2 separate regions of the Homo sapiens genome follow, and region 2 is linked to region 1. The links are contacts of gene promoters, found by promoter capture Hi-C in blood cells and fetal thymus (Javierre and others, 2016). All regions are on one chromosome and are shown on one strand. The core of a region is centred on a gene start or on the middle of the fragment in contact, and the rest is flanking DNA. Distances in the headings are between cores, read along the strand shown. Region 1 holds the start of ARPC1A (actin related protein 2/3 complex subunit 1A). Region 2 holds the start of ZNF394 (zinc finger protein 394).

What was found. Contacts are between HindIII fragments. The CHiCAGO score rates a contact against its expected background, and 5 or more counts as called.
Region 2: a contact is called between the fragment with the promoter of ZNF394 here and the fragment with the promoter of ARPC1A in region 1, in 1 of 17 cell types (neutrophils). The highest score is 5.5, in neutrophils.

What each region holds. Positions count from the first base shown.
Region 1 is chr7:99,324,588-99,327,821 of GRCh38, reverse strand. ARPC1A (actin related protein 2/3 complex subunit 1A) reads right to left here and starts at 1,924. Exons shown (of 10, transcript NM_006409.4): 1 at 1,818-1,924. LOC105375421 (a long non-coding RNA gene) reads left to right here and starts at 2,014. Exons shown (of 4, transcript XR_927798.3): 1 at 2,014-2,308. RefSeq lists a silencer at 1,644-1,823 and an enhancer at 1,799-2,358. The HindIII fragment of the contact is 5,893 bases long and covers 1-3,234 here.
Region 2 is chr7:99,498,644-99,501,572 of GRCh38, reverse strand. It overlaps ZNF394 (zinc finger protein 394), which reads left to right and starts at 1,292. Exons shown (of 3, transcript NM_032164.4): 1 at 1,292-1,935; 2 at 2,731-2,857. The coding sequence starts at 1,480. RefSeq lists enhancers at 1,682-1,961, 2,184-2,852. The HindIII fragment of the contact is 23,896 bases long and covers 1-2,929 here.

The sequences.
Region 1 (3,234 bases), core at 675-3,174:
AGGCACCAGCCTCACCAGCAGACCATTTTAAACTTCTTTATATAGGATTTGTTTCAGCATTGGATGAGACAACTAGATCAAAGTATCACCACTCCGCGTCCAAAATAGGAGTTTTCCGAAATGGTCCCTTCCTTTAACTGTGATTAACAGATGAACTCCAGAAGATCTCTGAATACTTTGTGGGAGAAAATAGCCATATAAGCTGGGTGTGGTGTCTCACACCCAAAATCCCAGCACTTTGGGAGGTCGAGGTGGGAGGATAGCTTGAGCTTAGGAGCTCCAGACCAGCTTGGGCCACATATGGAGACCCTGTCTTTACAAAAAATACAAAAAAAAAAAAAAAATTAGCCAGGCGCAGTGGCTCATGCCTGTAGTCACAGCTACTCGGGAGGCTGAGGCAGGAGAATCGCTTGAACCCAGGAGGTGGAGGTTGCAGTGAGCCAAGATCACACCACTGCACTCCAGTCTGGGTGACAGAGTGAGACTCTATCTCCAAAAATAAGTAAATAAAAATAAATGAAAATTAGCCCAGTGTGGTGGCACACGCCTGTAGTCCCAGCTACTCAGGAGGCTGAGGTGGGAGGATCTGTTAAGCCCAGGAGGTCGAGGCTGCAGGAAAAAAAAAAAAAAGGAAGACAACAACCACAGTTACCCACTCCCTAACAGGACAAAAACACCTTCCTGACTGATGCCCCTCCTCTGTTTTTAGATACCTGAAAACCCAGGCCCTATGTGAAACCACAAGACTAGATAAAATTGAGGAGAGAGGGCAGAACTAAGATAATCTCGGCAATTTAAGCTACGAGTTGACATAGACAGAAGGTTCCAAAGCTGCAGGAGAACAGATGGCTTTATAATCAAAGATTCTAAGCTATAACTGATTAAGTGCCTATCATGTTCCCAGCAGTGTTGTAAATACCGGGATGGGGCTAGAAACATAAATAAGGCTGACACCATTCTGGTCTTCAAGTCTGGAGGGTTGGTGTTTGGGGAGAGTGGAGGAGATAGAAAAGGAAAGGAAGACGGATATGCATAGAATGCCCAGAAGCAGTAATAATAGCTAATATTTATTGATCACCTACTCTCGGCCAGGAACTATTCTAAGCAATTTATGCAAATAAGCTCACTTGATTCTTAGCAAAACGGTAAGAATCTTTTTATTGCAGATGAGGAAACAGGCGCAGAGAAGCATCTTCCCAGGATCACTCAACAAAGTGGTGGTGCCAGGACTGGCATAAAAGATTCCACTAAATGAATAAGAGCGCCGAGAAGGGTGCAATTTTGACTTGGGGGAAGGCGGTACTCATGCAGGGAAATCTTAAAAGAACTCGGGAGAAGGTTTTTCTCGAGATCGAGAAGGTTCCCCATTAACCGAAGGATTGAGGGCTGCCCTAGAGAGCAGGCAAACATCCTATGGGCGCCTACTGTATGCAGGGATCGACTCTAGACACTAAAGAGATGAATAGTCCCGCGGGTCGCTCGATTACGGGAGATCCTCCTACTTGACACAATTTTAGAGACGGTGACAAATGCCCCCAGCAGAGGTGCAAGTAGGACCCTGGGGGCGCAGAAGGGGCCGTTAATTCGGGCATCGGAGGCGGCTAGGAGCTCGAACATCCTGAGAAAAGCTGCAGGGGATCCACGGAGAAAGGGGATCCCCGCCCCCTCAGGAGGCCCCGGCAGGGAGACCCGGCCGCGCCTCAGCCTCGGGGCCCCGCGGCCTGAGCCCCCGTCTCACTGCCCCCGCGGCAAGTCCGGCGCCAGGCCTGGACAAGAGAGGCCGACAGGGTGAGACGCTCGCCCCTGCTGGCCGTTACCTGGGATCGGGGGAGTCCGGACGGGCTCGGAGCGGAGGATTCGCGGACTCTGGGCAGTCGACGCGAACAGGCTCCGTCGGGCGCGGGCGGAGGACGGAAGCCCAGAGGGAGCGGCTGACAGATCCCGGAAGTGGACACGGCGCCTGCGCGTTGCGACCGCGCGGACGGTCCGCGCATGCGCACAGCTCGGGCGCGCAGTCCGGGGTTAGGCAGGCTGCAGTGGAGGAGGGTACGCCGTTCCATTGGCGTGGTACTGTCGGCGGCCCTTCAGAGGAGATGCTGCCCCACGGAACGCCTGGCAAGTGCTGGCGAAGCGGCATGGGCGTCCCACTCCGTTCCTCAACCAATTTCCTCACAATCGCGAGCCGAAGTGTGGCGCTTTGGCAGTTTCGCAAGGTCTTTTGTCAGGAGATGAGTTACTGAGGATTGGGGGTCTTTGGAGCTCTTGGACCTGAAGAACGATTAAGTTTTTCTCCCTTCAGAGAGCCAAGGTCAGAGCCAGTCTACCTCAGCGCTGCTCCCTGCAGGGAGCCTCCGCCCCCGCCGTGCTCCCTCTGTGGAAAGCCCCTGAAGCCCCCCAGGAACTTTCTCGACCCTTCCTGGGACAGAATCCCCTGCTCCCAAGCAGTTCCCTGCTCCCAAGATGGCGCAGCAGGGATAAAAGGGTTGGGGGAACTTGGCAAGGCCCCCAATTCACAGAGGACAGAGCCTGCCCCGCAGATGCAGCCTCCAAGAAATGCCCTGATCCCCACCTGCAATCAGGCTGCTGCCCTTGAACCCTAGAAATTCTGGAGCATCCCCAGCCCCCACAGATGGGGCTAATCGAGAGCTTTTCTTTTTTCTTTTTTTTTAGACAGGTTCTCAACCTGTAGCCCAGGCTGGAGTGCAGTGGCGCGATCATAGCTAACTGCAGCCTGGAACCCCTGGGCTCAAGCGATCCTCCCGCCTCAGCCCCCCGTGGAGCTGGGACTACAAGTGCACACCACCACGCCTGGCTAATTTTTATTTTTTGGTAGAGACAGGGTCTTGCTGTGTTGCTTAGGCTGGTCTTGAACTCCTGGGCTCAAGCGATCGTCCCTCTTTGGCCTCTCAAAGCCCTCAGATTACAGGTGTGAGCCACTGTGCCTGGCTAATTTTTATATTTTTTGTAAAGATGAGGTTTTCCTATGTTGTCCAGGCTGGTCTTGAACCCCTGGGCTCAAGCAATCCTCTAGCCTCTGCTTCCCAAAGCGATGTGAGCTCCCCCCCGCCGCCGCCCAGCGCCATGCCAGGCCAACCAAGGGCTTGTCTCCTTCCCTTTGGTATTGTAAGGTGAGGTTTATGTAGGTATACTTGTCAAACTCTCAATTTCAGACCCGCTGTGATCTTTTTGAGACGGAGCCTTTCTCTGTCGCCCAAGCTGGAGTGCAGTGGCGCG
Region 2 (2,929 bases), core at 43-2,542, 170 kb before region 1:
AGATGGCACGGACCCAAAGAGTGAGTAGCAGCAAGATTTATTGTGAAGAGCGAAAGAACAAACCTTCCACAGCATGGCAGAGCACTCCAGCCGGTTGCCTCCGCTGACTGGGGTGGGAGCTTTTAGTCTCTTATTTGTCCCCTCCCATGTCCGTTTCTGTCGTATCAGAACGCCCTTTTTTCCATCCTCCCTGCGATTGGCTGCTTTTAGAATCCTGCTGATTGGTCCATTTTACAGAGCGCTGATTGGTGCATTTTACAAACCTCTTGCTAGCTACAGAGCGCTGATTGGTGCATTTTTACAAACCTCTTGTAAGACAGAAAAGTTGTCCAAGTCCCCACTGGACCCAGGAAGTCCAACTAGCTTCACCTCTCACTGGGACTACAGGTGTGCACCACCACACCCAGCTAATTTTTTATTTTTTGTAGACATTGGGGTCTCCAATTCTTGGCTTCAAGCGATCTTCCCCCCTCAGCCTCCCAAAATGCTGGGATTACAGGCATACGCCACTGAGCCAGGCCAGGACACATCTTTGAGCCTCAATTTCCTCATCTTTTTTGTTTGTTTGTTAGGATCAAAGTCGTTAACATCTGATGTACATGGAAGCACTTAGTTTTAAAAAAAAAACAAAACTTTTTCCAACTGGGCGCAGCGGCTCACGCCTGTAATCCAGCACTTTGGGAGGCCGGGGCAGGCGGATCACGAGGTCAGGAGTTCCAGACCAGCCTGACCAACATGGTGAAACCCCATCTCTACTAAAATACAGAAAGTAGCCGGGCATGGTGGCGCGCGCCTGTAGTCCAAGCTACTCAGGAGGCTAAGACAGCCTGGCGACAGAGCGAGAGTCCGCCTGAAAAAAGAAAAAAAAACAACTTTGTCCAACCTGGGCAATATAATGAAACCCCATCCCCACAGAAAAATTAATAAACCGGGCGTGGTCGCGCGCACCTGTAGTCCTAGATACTTGGGAGGCTGAAGCTGGAGAATTGCTTGAACCCGGGAGACAGAAGTTGCAGTGAGCCGAAATCGCGCCACTGCAGTCCAGCCTGGGCGACAGAGCCAGACCCTGTCTATTTAATCCTGAAGGTTCCCGCCCTTGCCGGAGCTCGGCCACCGGCTCGGACGCCCGTATTTCCTCGGGATGCGGGAAACCGTCAAGACCCTCTGCGTCGGGCGGGGCTAGGACGATAAACCAGCGAGATGCACCTCACCCCATCAGGCGCCTAGAGAGGCCCCGGAAATGCAGGGAAAGGTGCCGCAAGGCCTCGATGACGCGCTTCCGGCACGGGATGTTTTCGGTTGTTTGACCGAGAGAGTTGTAGGCGCAAAGCTGAGGAAAGGAGAGTGTGGAGAGGGGCCTGGTGTGGTGGGGCCCGGTGTTTGGGACCGGAGGGTGTTGACGGCTGATGAGTTCCTTGGGTTTGCTCTTTCTTCACCTGAAAAGAAGACTCCAGGAAGGGCAGCACATGCCGGAGAAAGATGAATTCCAGCTTGACCGCCCAGAGGCGCGGCAGTGACGCCGAGTTGGGACCCTGGGTGATGGCTGCGAGGTCCAAGGACGCGGCGCCGTCCCAACGCGACGGACTTTTGCCCGTGAAAGTGGAGGAAGACTCACCCGGAAGTTGGGAGCCCAACTATCCCGCGGCTTCGCCGGACCCCGAAACTTCTCGACTGCACTTTAGGCAGCTGCGTTACCAGGAGGTGGCTGGACCGGAAGAGGCGCTGAGCCGGCTCCGAGAACTCTGTCGTCGGTGGCTGAGACCCGAGCTGCTCTCCAAGGAGCAGATCCTGGAGCTGCTGGTGCTGGAGCAGTTCCTCACCATCCTGCCCGAGGAGCTTCAAGCCTGGGTGCGAGAGCACTGCCCAGAGAGCGGGGAGGAGGCGGTGGCCGTGGTGCGGGCTCTGCAGCGAGCGCTCGATGGAACCTCATCCCAGGTGAGAAGCGAAAGGCCTGTTCTGGAGGTGGGAGTGTGGAAAATAGGCGTTTAGGGGTGCTCTGCGTTTCGGAACTTACTTCCTTATTACATTTCGTGTGAACATTGGGGTGTGTATGGACTTCCTTTCTGTAGGCCACAGTGACAGATCCATCCAGGAAATGACTTGTTATAGACCTCAGCATAAAGCGAACACGGATTACTGGTTTTCTTTCTTTTTCTTTTCTTTTTTTTTTTTTTCTTGTTGTTCTTGCTGTTGTTTGAGATGGAGTTTCACTCTTGTTGCCCAGGCTGGAGTGCAATGGCGCGATCTCGGCTCGCTGCAACCTCTGACTCCCGGGTTCAAGCGATTCTCCTGCCTCAGTCTCCCGAGTAGCTGGGATTACAGGCGCCCGCCACCACGCCCGGCTAATTTTTGTATTTTTAGTAGAGACGGGGTTTCACTGTGTTGGCCAGGCTGGTCTCGAACTCCTGACCTCAGGTGATCCGCCCGCCTCGGCCTCCCAAAATGCTGGGATTACAGGCGTGAGCCACCGCGCCCGGCCTTGTTTACTTTTAATCTGTATCATATTTCCATTCCCATACATCACAGTGATATAAGTTAAAGAAATATTTTGCTCCTACCTACCTCCAAAATTAGTGTAAATAGTCCACAGAAAGGCTTTTCAGGATTACAAGAGAATGTCAGCCTCTATCTCTGATCTCTCCAAACTCCCTTGTCGGTACAAGACTCAAGAAGAGTGTTAGTGCTGTACAGGGACAGCAGGTACTGAATGGGGCTCTTGTGTTGTTCCAGGGGATGGTGACTTTCGAGGACACGGCTGTGTCTCTAACCTGGGAGGAGTGGGAGCGCCTGGACCCAGCACGGAGGGACTTCTGCAGAGAGAGTGCGCAGAAGGATTCCGGGAGCACAGTTCCGCCGAGTGAGTGCTGTTGCTCTGCTGGTTTATTGCGGTGTGTGGTTTGTGAAGGGCTGGTTCACTACCATCCCTGAG